Linked DNA regions of Homo sapiens: regions 1, 2, 4, 5 and 6 are each linked to region 3. The links are contacts of gene promoters, found by promoter capture Hi-C in blood cells and fetal thymus (Javierre and others, 2016). All regions are on one chromosome and are shown on one strand. The core of a region is centred on a gene start or on the middle of the fragment in contact, and the rest is flanking DNA. Distances in the headings are between cores, read along the strand shown.

What was found. Contacts are between HindIII fragments. The CHiCAGO score rates a contact against its expected background, and 5 or more counts as called.
Region 1: a contact is called between a fragment that was not itself captured here and the fragment with the promoter of DNAJC2 in region 3, in 8 of 17 cell types (non-activated CD4 T cells, total B cells, total CD8 T cells and 5 more). The highest score is 12.4, in non-activated CD4 T cells.
Region 2: a fragment that was not itself captured here is called in contact with the fragment with the promoter of DNAJC2 in region 3 in 1 of 17 cell types (total B cells); the score reaches 6.1 in total B cells.
Region 4: a fragment that was not itself captured here is called in contact with the fragment with the promoter of DNAJC2 in region 3 in 1 of 17 cell types (activated CD4 T cells); the score reaches 5.2 in activated CD4 T cells.
Region 5: a contact is called between a fragment that was not itself captured here and the fragment with the promoter of DNAJC2 in region 3, in 5 of 17 cell types (naive CD8 T cells, total CD4 T cells, naive B cells and 2 more). The highest score is 7.2, in naive CD8 T cells.
Region 6: a fragment that was not itself captured here is called in contact with the fragment with the promoter of DNAJC2 in region 3 in 1 of 17 cell types (total B cells); the score reaches 5.5 in total B cells.

What each region holds. Positions count from the first base shown.
Region 1 is chr7:105,008,297-105,011,334 of GRCh38, reverse strand. KMT2E-AS1 (KMT2E antisense RNA 1) reads left to right here. Exons shown (of 1, transcript NR_024586.1): 1 at 1-793. Among named protein-coding and RNA genes, the nearest start is that of KMT2E-AS1, 4.3 kb to the left of the region's middle. The HindIII fragment of the contact is 974 bases long and covers 857-1,830 here.
Region 2 is chr7:104,908,891-104,911,888 of GRCh38, reverse strand. All of the region lies in intron 3 of LHFPL3-AS2 (LHFPL3 antisense RNA 2), which reads left to right. It also overlaps the pseudogene RN7SL8P. Among named protein-coding and RNA genes, the nearest start is that of LHFPL3-AS2, 16 kb to the left of the region's middle. RefSeq lists a silencer at 1,554-1,710. The HindIII fragment of the contact is 7,345 bases long and covers 1-2,998 here.
Region 3 is chr7:103,343,419-103,346,390 of GRCh38, reverse strand. It overlaps DNAJC2 (DnaJ heat shock protein family (Hsp40) member C2), which reads left to right and starts at 1,624. Exons shown (of 17, transcript NM_014377.3): 1 at 1,624-1,832. The coding sequence starts at 1,769. It also overlaps a transcript of PMPCB not described here. RefSeq lists an enhancer at 1,442-1,681. The HindIII fragment of the contact is 5,590 bases long and covers 1-2,209 here.
Region 4 is chr7:104,890,380-104,893,265 of GRCh38, reverse strand. The region is part of intron 2 of LHFPL3 (LHFPL tetraspan subfamily member 3); the gene reads right to left. Among named protein-coding and RNA genes, the nearest start is that of LHFPL3-AS2, 35 kb to the left of the region's middle. The HindIII fragment of the contact is 5,504 bases long and covers 1-2,886 here.
Region 5 is chr7:104,940,221-104,943,061 of GRCh38, reverse strand. It overlaps LOC101927902 (a long non-coding RNA gene), which reads right to left and starts at 2,118. Exons shown (of 2, transcript NR_187679.1): 1 at 1,392-2,118. The HindIII fragment of the contact is 9,797 bases long and covers 1-2,841 here.
Region 6 is chr7:104,962,548-104,965,328 of GRCh38, reverse strand. No RefSeq gene overlaps it. Among named protein-coding and RNA genes, the nearest start is that of LINC01004, 27 kb to the left of the region's middle. The HindIII fragment of the contact is 1,477 bases long and covers 554-2,030 here.

The sequences.
Region 1 (3,038 bases), core at 94-2,593, 1.7 Mb before region 3:
TGTGCTATTTCCTTAAGTCTTAGTTGTAGGCTCTTGGTAGTTTGAAAACAAGATTGGGTTTTTAATTCATTTGTGTATCCTTAAATCCTCACTAGTTTTTGTGGATTTCTTTTTTCAGTTATAAGCAACTGAATGTGGATGAGCTATAAATATTTAGTACAAAGAATGTAATTTGTCCACTCTGAATAGAAAGTAAGCATTAAGAACTCTTGAATGTCTTCAAGGGTTACTTTGTTACGTGTAAGATGTCTCCCCTTCCTTCATAGCAGTTTTTATTCCTGCTTAAAAAGGGAACTAAATATGAAGTCAGTAGATTTTAAGGTAATTTTCAGAATGTTTCTACTTTCACCGTGCCTTAATAAGGAAAAAAGGCCATTTTCCAAGCGAATGGAAACACCCTTTCCTTGTTTTGTGCCTTTAATCAGCGTGTACCTTCATTGTTCCTGATTGCCAAATCCACGAACTTCTTGAGCTCTCAATTTTTCTTGACTTTCCTATGGCATTTTAAATACTGTTCATACTTGGAATTACTTTTCTTTGACTGCCTTCATACATTCATATATTCTGCCTGGGCAATTTCATTTGGGCCTATTATGTTCCAATACCTCTCCAATTTTCACCTCCATCTTAGCTCTGCCAGCTTCAGTGCCACAGGTAGGCAATGTAAAAGTTTACTGGGGACCACAGGCTTTCTGAGCTCAATAAAAATACTAAGCTTGGTACTTGTTTTTTAAGAATTTTCTTCCCCCATCCCCTCACAAAGATTATTTGAGTAAATTACACCCCAACCTCCTTTTCCTTGTTTTTGTTGAAATTATTGTCTCTTAACTTTGGAACATTGCAGTTGCGGTAAGCTTACTAGGTTCACATAGCATATCTTCTGGTGTGTTAAAATTAAAATGCACACCATCTCAAAAGTGCTATGCCATTTCATACCTTTGTGCTTTTGTCCTGCTACCTGGAGTGCGTCTTTCTCACTTCTGGATAATACAATTTGAACCTTTTCTTTGCCTCTTGAAACTGCAAAATCCCTACTCGCAAGTAAATGTGTCATTCTTTATGTTGATAACCCAGCCTAGTGCTTGACACTTGATGGGCATTCAGGTATACATGGTTTTTTAGAGATTGATAAGATTAACTGTGCAGTCTATAAACTGTAAATACTGGCTTTTAAACTCTTTTAAAGGAGCTCTTTTGATAAACAATTTGGATAAGAGATGAAAGGTTAGGGAGGCTCCAGGCAAGGCAGAAGACTGCTGATGGCCCAGAGATAGTTCTGCCCCAAAAAGGTGGGAAGAAGAAAAAAACTGAGCTGGATATTTTTAAGGAAATATATTTTATAGCATTTTTCTTTAATGCCTAGTTTTGCTGCAAGCACTGAAGTTTATCCTGCATTTGTATTTCTTATTTGAAAAAGAAATGGCCTTTGGGGTTTGTTTTGTTTTTTGTTCCTTTGTAAGCACACTGCAAAAGCGGCGTTGTCAGCGTTGTCTTTTGAGGTATCAAACGTGCTTTCAGTCAGCAAATATCTTGTATATAGTACCATTCCTAATAAACTAAATTGGTTATCAACCTAATACAAACGGTACTTCATACAACTTAAGCCTAAACTAGATTAGATTATGTAGAAACTTATTCTTAGAGAATATATCGCCTTAATATTTCTTATCCTGAAAAGAGTATTTCTTAAGTGCCCCTCTCAAAGTATATCGATTAATATTTGTCTCAAATTTAAAACTATATCCTGGTTTTTCCCTTACAGTTGTTTAGCAAGTAAATGTTTACTTACTAATTTATTTTCTCCCAGACTTCATTCTACCAGTTTAAGCTTAGCTCAGTTTTGTTTTTTGGTTTTGAGAAGGAGCTTTGCTCTGTCACTCAGGCTGGAGTGCAGTGGTACGTTCTCAGCTCACTGCAGCCTCCGGCTCCTGGGTTCAAGCGATTCTCCTGCTTCAGTCCGTGAGTAGCTGGAACTACAGGCGCACACCACCACGCCCAGCTAATTTTTGTATTTTTAGTAGAGACAGGGTTTCACCATGTTGGCCGGGCTGGTCTTGAACTCCTGACCTCAGGTGATCTGCCTGCCTCAGCCTCCCAAAGTGCTGGGATTATAGGCGTGAGCCACCGTGCCCATCCTAAACTTAGCTCAGTTTTAATGCTACTTCCATTTCTTTATGTATAGTTTGATGTAAGAATAACAGTTGGAAGTAAGGATTTAGGAATAACAAGAGTTTGGGATTTTTGTTTTTTTAATTAGCAAGGTAATGCCACATCAGGTCATTAGTGACATTAATGAGAGAACAGGGGAATTATTGGAAAGTCTTGACTTAAGGCCAGACGAGAAATCCTTAACTGCTAGTGTGACTTCCCTCCCCACAAAAGAGAATGCTCTCGTAATACACCGAACTGTTGGATGCTGTTGTATATACTTTATATATAATCTTACCCAAGGTGGCAGAGCATTAACTTTAACATCTGTCTCCCTGACCTCACCAGAGTTCATAATCTTTGCCCTACTTACACTGTCTGAAGGATGACTTGGCCTTTTTTTTTTTTTTTTTTTTTTTAATTGAGACAGAGTCTTGCACAGTTGCCCAGGCTGGAGTGCAGTGGCACGATCTCGGCTCACGGCAGCCTCCACCTCCTGGGTTCAAGTGATTCTCCTGCATCACCCTCCCCAGTAGCTGGGATTACAGACGCTTGTCACCGCGCCTGGCTAATTTTTGTATTTCGGGGTTTCGCCATGTTGGCCAGGCTGGTCTCGAACTCCCCACCTCAGGTGATCCGCCCATCTTGGCCTCCCAAAGTGCTGAGATTACAGGCATGAGGTGTGGCACAGGACAGAGAAAGACTTACTTTAAAACATACCTGTCTTCAACCCAGAAGAGACTGGCTTTTAGAGCCCTCAATGTAGCAAGAAGAGCCTGAATCAGAGCAGGAGTGATAAAGAAGGAATCTAAGTTATTACAGAAACATCCGTAATTGTTGCCTGGGTGGGTATAAGGAAGAAGAAGGAATTGACTTTCAAGAAAAATAAT
Region 2 (2,998 bases), core at 365-2,864, 1.6 Mb before region 3:
ATGGTAGTTCCTCTGTTTTTCCCTGTATTTTTACTGTCATGTCTTCCTTTATATTTATCTTGCTTGATATCTATTGTGCTTCCTATATGTGTGGATTCATATCTTTATCATTTTTGAAAAATTTTCAGACATTTTCTATTCAAATATTGCCTTTCCCTTATTCTCTCTATTTCTCCTGTTGGAAATCTGGTTAGATGTCTGTGTCTTCTCTGTTGTTTAACCTCTTTGTCATTTACCAACCCCTTGGCTTTTTGTATTGTATTCTGTGTAATTTCTTTAGATCTGTCTACTAGTTCACAGCTCCTCTCTTCAGTTATACCTGTTTGTAATTTACACATTGTACTTTAAATTTCAGTGATTATAGTTTTAATTTCTAAGACTTAAAAAATTTCCTTCTAATCTATCTGATTATATGTAATGTACTCTTTATTGTATTCATTGTTTTAGACGCTGTCTTTATTTCCTTAACATGTAAAACATGATTATTTTATATTGTGTATCTGGTAATTCCACTATCTAAAATCTGTAGGGTGATAAGTCGGCTGTTAGTTATATCTGCTGATTATCGCTTACAGTTTATTTGTATATTTAGTAATTTTTATTTTTATTTTTGAGACGGAGTCTCGCTGTCTCCCAGGCCGGAGTGCAGTGGCGCGATCTCGGCTCACTGCAAGCTCCGCCCCCCGGGTTCACGCCATTCTCCTGCCTCAGCCTCCCGAGTAGCTGGGACTACAGGCACCCGCCACCACGCCCGGCTAATTTTTTTCTTTTTGTATTTTTAGTAGAGACGGGGTTTCACCGTGTTCGCCAGGATGGTCTCGATCTCCTGACCTCGTGATCCGCCTGCCTCGGCCTCCCAAAGTGCTGGGATTATAGGCGTGAGCCACCGCGCCCAGCCATATTTAGTAATTTTAAAATTGCAATTGCATACTTTGTTGAGCTTAATTGGTGAGAGCTATGCGAGAGATGCTTTCCTCTAGACAACAAATGCTTGTATCTGCCTGGTACAAGGGGCCCTAAAAAGCTCTTTAATTTCTTGGTTGGGGTTTCTTTGATCATATGGAGAGTGTAAGACTGAATTCCATACTTGACGGGGGCAGGCATATGATAAATTTCAAGGGGTCATTATTATTTTTTTTTTCCATCTAGAGCCAGTGTGGAGATGGTGTTCTTGATAGATTTCTTTCGCTAGCATGAGGATTTTTCCTAGACCACTCTTGCCTAGGATGTAGCCATCTTCAAGCATCCTGCTTTTGGATGTGAATGTCAAATTTAACTCACCTGCTTCCAGTGGCCCAACGCTTAATCTTCCATTCCCTACTTTGTTATACAGATTTACCTTCAGGCAAGCCCAGTTTTTGCCTTTGCTTACATTTCACACTTAGTTTTCAGCTCACTCCACTTCTTTTTTGAAATGTTTTTGGAATTTCCCTTATTTTCTTATAATCTAAGCTGTGTGTTAAAAATAAACTTATTGTAATTTATCTAAGATTTAATAGTATGGCATAAGAAAGGCTTTTTAGAGGCTGGGCTCAATGGCTCACGCCTGTAATCCCAGCACTATGGGAGGCCAAGGTGGGTGGATAATGAGGTCAGGAGTTCAAGACTAGCCTGGCCAACATGGTGAAACCCCGTCTCTACTAAAAATACAAAAATTAGCTGGGCATGGTGGTGCGGAGGTTGCAGTTAGCCAAGATCGCCCCACTGCACTCCAACCTGGGTGACAGAGCCAGACTCCGTCTTAAAAAAAAAAAAAAAAAAAAAAAAAAAAGAAAGGCTTTTTAGAGTATCTAGTTTATACTGCTAGATGCCGAAACCAAAAGTAATCTTTTAGAAATGTGAAATAGTTTATATCACTCTTCTGCTTAAGATCCTCCAGTGGCTTTTTCTCACACTTAAAATGTACAAACTATCCTGGCCTACAAAGCCCAGAGCTGGGTCCTAGCTTAGCCCACGTGGCTCCCCACTCTGCCACCTTGCCGTTCCTGGTCTGGCATGCCTTCTGCTTTTTTCACACGTGGCTTTTAAACGTTTGTTCAGGTCTCACTCTAAATGCCACCTTTTCATGGAGGCCTTACCTGACTCCTCTCTCCATTTCTCTGTCAATCACCCTGTTTTAATTCTCTTTAGGGCATCTATTATTAGCTGACATTTTCCAGTCTATTGTCTGTCTTCCCCTACTAGAACATAAGACCTATGAAAGGAAAGCAGGGTTTTGTGTGATTCACCACTATATTCTCAGAGTTTAGAACAGTTCTTGGCACATAGTAGGAACTCAATACATATTTCTTGAATCATTAGAGCTGAGCGTTGACTACTTATTCCCTTTAGACGGGACCTAGGCTCTTCAGTGCTCCACAGTTCCCACTACTTCCTTTTAAAAATTTATTTTATTTTATTTAAAAAATTATTGTTGTTTTTTTTTTTTATTTTCAGAGAAGGGATCTCACTATATTGCCTAGGCTGGTCACATACTCCTGGACTCAAGTGATCCATCTGCCTCAGCCTCCCAAAGTACTGGGATTAGAGGCCACTGTGCCAGGCCAGTTCCTACTACGCCCTATTATGTCCCCAGCTGAGCTTGCTTTGTGAATTTATTGGCCCTTGTACGCATTTGAATTTTCAATCCCTGCTTATAAATGTCACTCTAATTGTCTTCAGGATCTTCAGAGCAGAGACTTTTTTTTATGTTTCTTTTCTTCCTTCAGTGTCTTGCATATAGTAGGAGGGGAAGGAATGAACATTCACTGAATATCCCCTACCTGTCAAACACAACAACAGTATAGTTTAATTTATATCCTTACAACAATGCTATGGAGCTGAGTAATATTATTTATATCTATTTTACCAGTGAGGACACTGAGGCTTAGAGTTGTTCAGAGTCATATAGTAAACCAAGGATCAGGGATTGGAACCCACTCAGACAACATATACCCAGTATGAAGTGTTGTTGCTTCATATACCCAGTATGAAGGGTTGCTCATGTGCGAGGAATGGT
Region 3 (2,972 bases), core at 375-2,874:
GGGAGGCTGAAGCAGGCAGATCATGAGGTCAGGAGTTGGAGACCAGCCTGGCCAACATGGCTAAACCCCGTCTCTACTACAAATACAGAAATTAGCTGGGCGTGGTGGCACGCACCTGTAATCCCAGCTACTCGGGAGGCTGAGGCAGGAGAATCGCTTGAACCTGGGAGGCAGAGATTGCAGTGAGCCGAAATCAGGCCACTGCACTCCAGCCTGGGCGACAGAGCAAGCCTCTGTCTCAGAAAAGAAAACAACAAAAAAACAAAAACCCATGTTAGAGTTAATGGTAAAATTGAATGGGAGGAGGTGTGAGGAAAAAAATATATTAATATGAAGAAAGTGGAGTCAGGTTACTTTGCACCTTGGAGCATGTTTTAACAGTGGTTGCATTAGTAGGGATCAGGAAGAGGTTTTGGGGCAGAAGATTAGTTCAATTTTTTTTTTTTTAAAGACGGGGTCTCACTGTTACCCAGGCTGGAGCGCAATGGTGTGATCTCAGCTCACTGCAACCTCCACCTCCCGGCCTCAACGATCTTCCCACCTCAGCCTCCCTTAGTTCAATTTTTGAAAAGTCAGTTTTGAAGTGACAATTTTATCATGCAGCAGATATACAGACCAATTAAATGTATTTAATTGGCCTGGCACAGTGACTCACGCCTCTAATCCCAGAGTTTTGGGAGACTGAGGCAGGAGGATCCCTTGAGGCCAGGAGTTCAAGACCACCTTGGGCAACATAGTGAGACCCTGTCTCTACAAAAAAAAATATACATATATATATATATAATATATTTAAAAACTTTAATTGTGAAAATATAATGAAATTAGTAAGTTATTTTCTAATTTACTAATTTCTGGTGGTCCTTGCTAAAGAGTGGCATATCAAGTTTATTTTATTGAACCTGTTTCAGATACTGCTGTTGGGGGTGAGCCTTTACCCACTGTTTGTTTTTGCTAGTTTTTGCTTTTGACTGCAGTCTTAGAAGGAAGCATATAGTAGGAATACAATTGATTTTATTATACATTAAAAAATTAAGTCCCAGAGTCCTATAATTGGGAATATCTTGAATAAAAACTTCATTAGAACAAGGTAAAAATATTGCTGGCCTTGGAATACAATCTAACACACTAGAGAGAGGTTTCTTCTCCAAGCGAGTATTAAAAGATATAATGCAGGTAAATTAGTAATAGCACGACAAATATTAGCTGCTATTATCATCATCAAGTTAAACACAAATGTATCACAAATACACGTACGTAATTCTCCGCAAATGTATATACTAGTCGTCGATACTGGTTCATACAGGTATTTTCATTTTTTACTTAAAAGTATAGCGCTCCTGGGAAAATCACTGATTAGGTTCAGATTAATACATAAAGCAGTAAGAACTTAAAGATAATATAAAAAGAACTGCTTTTAAAGGTTATGTTCTATGTATTGCACTGGGACGTGGAATATAATCCTTTTTACAGGAAAACTGATGCGCCTAGGAACCATTCTCTCGTGCGACTTGGTCTCCAGCCGGATCTCAGTCAGTATAGAACTAGGTTACCGCACACGTTGGCGGGGGTGGGAGGGTGTGAGACTGGCCTCCACACCACGAAAGATCCATCCCGGAAGTGCTTACTGGTCGTCTCCATGCGCCGGTTCCTGGGCGTCTTAGAGCCAAGGCGCGAGGCTCGGAGTGAGAGGTAGAGCTGGAGGGGACCCTAAGCGCCCTCCGCCCGGGACGTGAGCCGCTGCGCCCACCGGGCTAGACCCGGCGCCATCATGCTGCTTCTGCCAAGCGCCGCGGACGGCCGGGGCACCGCCATCACCCACGCTCTGACCTCTGGTAAGTGCCCACCCAACCTCGGTTCCTTCTCACCTCAGCTGCCCCTGCCTCAGTCCTCCGCCTCGGCAACCCTGGGCTCTCTCTACCCTTGACCCTGGCGACTAGCCCCGGGGCCGTATGGGGCCGTGACGAGTGCCTTTTTGCTCCGTGTTTTAAAGTAATCCTACCCTAGATTAGAAGGAAGGAGGGTGAGGGGTGCCTTCCTTTTGCTCCTACCGTTGCTTCCTCCTCTCGCCGCTGCTGACTCATGGATTGGGCTGAGCATTTCGGGACGGAACCCCCCAGCACCCCAGAAAGGTTCTCATAAGCATCTCCTTGCCTACGGTGGAAAGACTACGCGCAGCGAGCACCCCACGTGCCTGGGGTCGTACAAAGCTTTGCTACTGGCGCTCTCTTAAACAACTTTCTCCCTCTCTACGTTTGCTCCGGCCTTGTTTTTTAAATGTCACAACTCAGACACCGCTCCTCATACTCGGTGTTCAAAGACTGTGCTGCTGAAAAGATCCGCGTAGACTTTGAAAGGCAGTTATTACAAGTGAAACTTGTCCTGCTGCTGTAGGTTTTAGTTTTATGGCCCAGGACAGTCATGAGTATTGTAAACTTAAGAGTCTTCAGGTCCAGTGATCTACAGTAATTCCCATAGCCAGTCACATAGGCGCTTGTTGAATGTGATTTTGAACATAACCCATGGCACGTGTTGCATTTATGTGTCTCCGTGTGCCTCTTACAACTAGAGCAAAAGGCTTAAAAGGCAGTGTTCTTAAAAGCCACACACCCATACTACACAGGTAGTACCTTTTTGACAGTGTTTTAATCCTCTCCTGTGTAAGGTGGAGGAAATCTTAAAATAAGTTGTTCAGGGATTTTCCTTTTTTGAATTGCTAGTATACACATGTACAGTGATTTACCCCCACTTCCCAGGAATAGATGATACCTTTACTACAAGTTTGTAATTTCAGAGAGTTTCTGTGGTCTCATTCAAGCTTCCTAGGAACTGAATGAGATAAATAGGTATTGTTCCCATTTTACAGGTGAAGACATCCTGATTCATTTCAGGTCACATAGCCACTGTCAGACCTAGTCTAAAACCCAGAGTGTCTGGTTTCAGATTGAGAGCTTGTTCCACTACAGCTTAGCTGC
Region 4 (2,886 bases), core at 358-2,857, 1.5 Mb before region 3:
CTGGGATTACAGGTGTCAGCCACCGTGCCAGGCCAATTTTTTTTTTTTTTTAGAGACAGAGTCTTGCCTTGTCAGCCAGGTTGGAGTGTAGTGGTATGATCACAGCTTATTGCAACCTCGAACTCTTGGGCTCAAGTGATCCTCCAGCCTCAGCCTCCCGAGTAGCTATGGCTACAGGTGCATACAATCAAATGCCTGGCTAATTAAAAACATTTTTTTTTCTGTAGAGATAGTTTCTCGCTATGTTGTCCAGGCTGGTCTTGAAATCCTGGCCTCAAGCAATCCTCCTGCTTCAGCGTGGGATTACAAGCATGAGCCACTGTGCCCAGCCTATACAGCCATTTAAAATGATTGTATAGCTCTATAATAAATGAATAACATACATACCATAATAAAAGAATAAAGCAGGATATGAAGTAGCATGATTAATGGAATCTCATTTTTGAAAATCAAATATGTTTATATGTACATAGAAAAAATATGGAAGGATCTACCCCATAATGTTAGTTGAGCTCTGAATGGTAGATTTAGGATTTTTTTTTTTTTTTTTTTTTTTTGAGACAGTCTCACTCTGTCACCCAGGCTGGAGTGCAGTGGCGTGGTCTCAGCTCACTGCAACCTCTGCCTCCCGGGTTCAGGTGATTCTCTTGCCTCAGCCTCTGGAATAGCTGGGATTACAGGTGCCCGCCACCACACCTGGCTAATTTTTGTATTTTTAGTAGAGACGGGGTTTCTCTATGTTGGCCAGGCTGGTTTTGAACGGCTGACCTTGTGATCCGCCTGCCTCAGTTTCCCAAAGTGCTAGGATTACAGGTGTGAGCCACCATGCCCTACGATTTAGGATGTTTTTTGACTCTGAAAAAGAAAAATTGTCTGATTTTTCTTTTTCTGTTTTTATTTTTACAGTGAGCTGAACACACATCATTTTTATAACTGGGAAAAATGTGCCACTATTATTTTGAAAATTAAATTCCTTGGAAATAAAAAGCTAAACATTCTACCATCTTCCATGTTATTGTGGGTTTGTATTTGCTTCTCTAAGAGAGTGATTAGGAGATGCTCTGAAGACTCTCAGCACACCAAAAGGATAGCTATTCTAAACATTCCTTTTAGCACCTTCACATACATTCAATGCATTCCTCAATGTATCACCCAATGCATTCTTGTTGAATAAGTGAATGAGCATTGAGAAGAAAATCTGTGATCAATATGCAAAGTGTTGCAAAAGAAGAACACTTTCATAAGGATGAGAAGTCATAACAATAGAAAATAATAACTTTCAATTTCTTTTTCTTAGATTCCTGGTAGCTGGATTAATTTGTGTTCAAAGTGATTCACTGAGTCTAGTGAGATCCTAGAACAAGGTTGGGGCTGTTTAAGTCACTCTAAGAGCTCCCTCCAGACATTTCTGTCAGCCTGTCTACACCATATCTCTTTTCATTATTCTTGTTGCCTTTGGTGGCTGTCACAGACAGGAGAGCCAAATAATGCTCCTAGCAGCACATATCATTTCTGCTTTGTCCATCTCTTGCTCACTATAATAGGACATTCTTCTTCCACAGATAGAACAGATTTCTGGTTCTTAGAAAGGCTTCCCAACCTCTGCCCAGGCGTTCATTTTATTTGTGATTCAGAGAATGGCTCTTGGCCAACACAAGAGAATGCCAATTCAGGGACTACTGTGGTTTGAATGTCCCCTCTGAAACTCATGTTGAAATCTAATTGCCATTGTAATAGTATTAACAGTGGGACCTTTAAAAGGTGCTTAGGTCATGAGGGGTCATGATGGATTAATGCTGTTGTCACTGGGAGTGGGGTCCCAATAAAGGGATGAAATTTGGCCTGATTTCCTGTCTCACACATGATAAAGGGATGATATTCAGCCTGCTTTCCAGTCTCGCACGCCTGCTTGCCCTTCCGCCATGTTATGATGCAGCCAGAAGGCCCTCACCAGAAGCAGCCCCTCAGCCTTGGACTTCCCAGCTTCCAGAACTGTAAGAAATACATTTATGGGAGTCTCTCTGAATCTGCTGTGATTGTGGGGGCTGCCTGAAAAAGAGAATTCAAACAAAACAAATTTTTTTTTTATGGTATTCTGTTATAGCAACACAAAACAGAGTAAGAAACCATTCAAAACAGACCCTTAATTTGGCAACTAGATGTCTCTGATATGAAAGTTGGGGGTAAGGCACCCAGATCTGCAGAAAGGCTCAAAAGATTTGTCCTCATAGCTGCAACAGTTGTGTCATAATGGTAGAAACAGAAATTCTCTACTATGGGAGATTAAAAAGAAATGAAACCTTCAGTGACCACCTACTCTGTTGCAGGCACGAGGCTGGGGAGCTGGGGCGCTGCTGGTGGGCTTCATGGTGCTGTGGTTCTGTCTATTCTCATCAGCCTGTGAGGCAAGAAAGTATTGGCAGCACCTCACAGGCCTTGTCCTCTTCATAGCCCCCTCCCGGGAGCCACATCAGTCTCCATTTCAGGTAAAAAAATGAATGAACAAATCACAAAGATGGTCCTCACTGGCCACCTGAGCCTGGCGTGTCATCCACAGAAGAGCCTGGCTTCCCCGCCATTTCTCCCATGGCCTCTGGCCTGAAATAGTTTTCTTCTTGTTAGCGGTTGATCTCAGCTCTGGGCAATGAGACCTTCACCCGGCCAGTGTTCAGAATCCACTGAACGGACTGAGGGGGAAGGACTGACAATCAGTTCTAAAGGGACAAACACACAGCCAATTTAGCTGCTTAGTTCCAGACCCTGCATGTAAACAGTAAGCTAGGAGCTCTGAGGCAAGTCTACTGCTCAAGGCAGCAACTGGGTATTTTCCCCTGAGCTCCACGGGGCGTTGTAATGCGGGGGAGGAAGGGGATGGAGCAAAGATTA
Region 5 (2,841 bases), core at 30-2,529, 1.6 Mb before region 3:
TCCACTGCACTCCAGCCTGGGTGACAGAGCGAGACTCCATCTAAAAAAAAAAAATTGAATTTTGCACCCATGTTGAGTGCCTCCTATGCCTCACTCTAGTCCCTGCTCTGCTGTGAAATGGTGTGCTGTTGACAGGCACTCAGAAATATGAAACATGGAAATGCTCATTTTGATTATCAGGAGGTGAGGGTCCTCCAAGATGTGTGGAATGTGTTGCCCAGATAACCCAGGCCATGTTGCTTTTTTGTCTTTCTTTTTTAGAGACAGTGTATCACTCTGTTGCCCAGGCTGTAGTGCAGTGGGACAGTCATAGCTTGCTGCATTACTTCAAGCAATCCTGCTGCCTCAGCCTTCTAAGTAGCTGGGACTACAGACGCAAACCACCAGCTAATTTTCTAATTTTTTTTTTTTGATGGACTCTCACTCTGTCACTCAGGCTGGAGTGCAGTGGCACGGTCTCGGCTCGCTGCAACCTCCACCTCCTGGGTTCAAGTGATTCTCCTGCCTCAGCCTCCCAAGTAGCTGGGATTACAGGCATGCGCCACCACACCAGGCTAATTTTGTATTTTTAGTAGAGATGGGGTTTCTCCATGTTGGTCACGCTGGTCTGGAACTCCTGACCTCAGGTGACCTGCCCCCCTCGGCCTCTCAAAGTGGTGGGATTACAGGCATGAGCCACCGTGCCTGGCCTCTAATTTTTTATAGAGATGGGGTCTCACTATGTTCCCTGGGCTCGTCTCAAATTCTTGGCCTTAAGCGATCCTCCTACCTTGGCCTCCCAAAGGGTTGGGATTACAGGCATGAGCCACTGTGCCTGGACACATGTTTCTTAAGACCTAGGTGTTGAAGTTACAATTATGCCAGGGAATACAACTGGAAAGCTGCCTAGAAGAGCTGCAGTCCAGGCTACCCGAACCTTCCATAGGAGACTGGGGCAAGCGTCTGGGGGAGGCGGTTGCCTGCTTGGTATCATCTAAAAAGGATTGGAAAGGTTCCTTTCTCTAAGGGTCTCTTCTAGACATGCCATCAGTAGAGTTGTCAATCCTTTGGCTCTTGTAATTGTCTTGGTTTTAAAGAAACTTCCATTAAAATAATATAACTATCTCTGTGGTTATTATTGGCAGAGATCTTAGCAGAGTCTTACTTATTCATTCATTCAACAAGCATTGAGCACCACATACCAGGAATGCCCAGTCTAATGAGAGTGGCAAGGTGGAGGCCAGGGCAGGATGGCAGAGGGGCCACTCATTCGATTCTGATCTGCTTCCACCCGGGACTGCAACTGAGGAAGAGCAAGATTCAGAGCAGGTGCCTACCTGGGATCACAAGAGAGAGGTGCAGGAAGAGACAGGGAGAGCCCTCAAAACACTTCTCACTCCTTTCAGATGTACCTGGGCTATGCAGGGCTAGAGGAGGCAGCCAGCGATGGGCTTTGATTCATGGAAGTCTTGTTGCACAACTCTGGAGGCGGGGGCGCCATTCTCATAGAATACAATGTACCACTCAGGCATTGCACAGGATTGGGAAAGTTCTCTGGGAAGTGAAGCCTATCAGTAAGGTGGCAGGGGAGGGGAGTTTTCCCCTGAGGATATGCAGCTGTGCACCTGGCGGTTCTGTGGGTGGGATCCTGCTGTGTCCGGAATTGGTGGGTTCTTGGTTTCACTGACTTCAAGAATGAAGCCGTGGACCCTCGCCGTGAGTGTTATAGTTCTTAAAGGCGGCGTGTCCGGAGTTTCTTCCTTCTGGTGGGGTTCGTGGTCTCGCCGGCTCAGGAGTGAAGCTGCAGATCTTCGCGGTGAGTGTTACAGCTCCTAAGGCGGCGCATCTGGAATTGTTCGTTCCTCCTGGTGGGTTCGTGGTCTCGCTGGCTTTAGGAGTGAAGCTGCAGACTTTCGCGGTGAGTGTTACAGCTCTTAAGGCCGCGCGTCTGGAGTTGTTCGTTCCTCCCGGTGGGTTTGTGGTCTCTCTGGCTTTAGGAGTGAAGCTGCAGACCTTCGCCGTGAGTGTTACAGCTCACAAAGGCAATGTGGACCCAAAGAGCGAGCAGCAGCAAGATTTATTGCAAAGAGCAAAAGAACAAAGCTCCCACAGCCCGGAAGGGGACCGGAGAGGATTGCCACTGCCAGCTGGGGCAGCCTGCTTTTATTCTATTATCTGGCCCCACCCACATCCTGCTGATTGGTCCATTTTACAGAGAGAGGAGTGGTCTGTTTTGACAGGGTGCTGAATGGTGCGTTTACAATCCCTGAGCTAGACACAAAGGTTCTCCACGTCCCCACCAGATTAGCTAGATACAGAGTGTTGATTGGTGCATTCACAAACCCTGAGCTAGACACAGGGTGCTGATTGGTGTGTTTACAAATCTTGAGCTAGTACAGAGTGCCGATTGGTGTATTTACAATCCCTTAGCTAGACAAAAAGTTTCTCCAAGTCCCCACCAGTCAGGAGCCCAGCTGGCTTCACGCAGTGGATTCTGCACGGGGGCTTCAGGTGGAGCTGCTTGCCAGTCCCACACCGTGCGCCCGCACTCCTCAGCCCTTGGGTGGTCTATGGGACTGGGCACCGTGGAGCAGGTGGCGGCACTCGTCGGGGAGGCTTGGGCCCCCCAGGAGCCCACGGAGGGTGGGGGAGTCTCAGGCATGGTGGGCTGCGGGTCCCGAGCCCAGCCCCGTGGGGAGGCAGCTAAGGTCCAGCGAGAAATCGAGCGCAGCGATGGTGGGCGGCACTGCTGGGGGACCCAGCACACACGCTGCAGCCGCTGGCCCGGGTGCTAAGCCCCTCATTGCCCAGGCCGGCAGGACGGGCCGGCCGCTACGAGTGCGGCCCGCTGAGCCCACACCC
Region 6 (2,781 bases), core at 43-2,542, 1.6 Mb before region 3:
GCAAGCAGGTTCAAGCAATTCTCATGCCTCAGCCTCCTGAATAGCTGGGACTACAGGTGTGCACCACTGCACCCAGCTAATTTTTGCTTTTTTTTAGAGACGAGGTTTCACCATGTTGGCCAGGCTGGTTTTGAACTCCTGAGCTCATGATCTGCCCTTCTCGGCCTCCCAAAGCACTGGGATTACAGGCATGAGCCACCATGCCTGGCCTGGAAGAATGTGCTTTATTTCCATTTTACAGGTAAGGAAACTGAGCCCTAGAGAGGTTAAGTAACTTGCCCAAGATTACACAGCTACTAAGAGGCAGAACAAGGTTCTGGAGGAAGCTGTTTACCTCCAGGGTCTACAAATCCTAACTTCTACATGAGTCTGGCTTACATGGCAAATGGGGAATGGAAGTTTTCGAAGATGCCCAGAAAGACACAGAGATCTGAAACTTTGTCTAGGAAGAAGAGTGAGGACCAGTTATCACAGGCATCCATATTCCTAGGTTCACAGCTTATCTACCCACTGACAGGGGGCCATGTATGAACTCGATGGCCTACAGTAAGCTTTTCAGGGCTTGTCATTTTGCTCTAGGAAACTGCTATCCAGCCCCATGTGGTTCCTGGATCACTCCGAAGTGCTTTAGAGTCACTTTAATCCTTGAGTTTAAAGTTTAAAGCAGATAACGTATACAGAAACATAGAAAAGGAACCAAAGAAAACTAACAAAATAAAGTTTGGTAATTTTCAAATCTTGCTACATAATTCCTTGCTTGGGAAGAAATGCTCAAAAATCAACAAAAGGAGGACAAAAACAGGATGTTAAAAAGCATTTTTATGTTTTAAGAAATTTACTGCCAGACTAAGAGTATTTCTGCCAAAACTAACATGCTTCTTTCCTACAACCTACACAATCTGGGGTTTGCTGAGAATTTGGTTGGATTTTGAGGGTGAGACCATAATTTCCCACCATGTTCATTTTCAAAAAGAATGTCCCACACATGAAAACACACACACGCACACACACACACACAAACACACACACACACACACAAATGCTCCAGTGGAAGTAGTGGTCCTGCAGTTCCTACTATGAGTAAAGTATCCCACAAAGATTTGGCCCAGAGATTGGCATCTGACATGGAGTCTCTTTTAGTGCACTCATTGCAAATCTCCATCTGAAGGTCTGTAAGGAACATGGCTGTGCTGCAGCCAAGCAGGCATAGAGCAGCAGGCATAGGTCAAGGTAAACAGCCTAAATGACTCAGCAGTATTGGGGCGCAAGTGCAGTCTCGTGTCTTATACAATCATAGCCATGTAGACATAACATAGAGAAGCTCACCACCTGGCTCTCAGCCACTATTGTCTGTGTAGTGTATAAATGTAACACTGACCCTGTAAAGGGGCTGCTGAATAAAGCCATGTCTCACTTACATGCTGTCTCTCAGGTGTTCTTCCAGCTCCCTGCCCTGTGTCCACCCACTCCCCTCAGCCCTCAGCTGGGGCCAGAACCTGACCCCAAGCATGACAAGGTTTTTGTCCTGTGGGCTGGGGATGCAAAAGGACACAAGATCATGAACATGTGGGAAGGACCTGGGACTGGGAGCTAAACAAACTGGACTCAAATTCTGGATTCACCAATTCCTAGCAGTGTGATCTCTCTGAGCATCTGTTTCCTCATCTGTGAAATGAGAAGCAAAATACCATCCTTCAGGATTGTCAATGAGGCATTGTATGTATATCACTCAGCACAGCCTGAAAGTAGTAGCTTAAGCCCCTCTACTTGGGAGAACACTGGATTAGGTCCACGTGACTGACAGCTAGGAACACAGAGTGAGAAAAATCAAGACTGAGGGGTGAGCCAAGGGATAACAGAAGAGACCGAAGCATCATGAGGAAAGAGAAGAGGAGACAGAGGAAAGCAGGGAGGAAGGACTTGCTCCTTTTTGTCCTCTAAGATAGATTTGGCAAAGACAAAAGACTCAAGAGGAAAATGAGACATTATTTTGCACCATCCAGGGGCAAGATTTTGCAAGTACTCAAGCTTCTCTCTTCCAGATATTAAAGGCATAGCAAAGGGGTTATATTATTACTACTGAATGCTAGAATACTATTTTTAAAACATTGATTTTGATTTTTTTCTTCTAGATTTTTTTTCTTCTATTCCATCTCCCCATTTGAACAGACAAACCATTCTTTGCTCCTATCTAAGAGATGGGTCTTACAAGCAGAAAGCAAAGTTTTTCAGTTTCAAAAGCCTGGGCCGGTGGTTCTCAAAGTATGGTCTCCAGACCACATCAGCATCACCTGGATACTCGTTAGAAAGGGAAATTCTTGGGCCCTACCCCAGACCTACTGAATCAGCACCTCTGGGGGTTGGGCTCCACGTTCTGTGTTTTAACAGGCCCTCCAGGTGACTCAGATGTAGGCTGCAGATTGAAAACCACTGGTCTAGATCCTTAGTGAACTGGAGAGAACAAACTGGTAAAAGATTTAGGAGAAAACATCAGGAATAACAGCAAAGCTCCTTACCTAAGTTAGAAAAATATTCTCTAGGCTGAGGGAGGAGGGGAGATAGAAGGGAAGTGATAAGACAGAGAGGTGGTGGGGACAGGAGGAGAGGGCTAGAAGTGAGTGCCAGCCTACATTTTAGTAAGCCCCTTTGCCTATGCCAGACCATTGGGTTAGTTGCCTTCTGGTAGGTGTCTAGTGAGGACTTATGCCTGACAGCAAGCAACAACCAGGACATTGTTTATTGGCTAACAGTCAGAGCAAAATGTTGGGTTTGTGTCCTCCC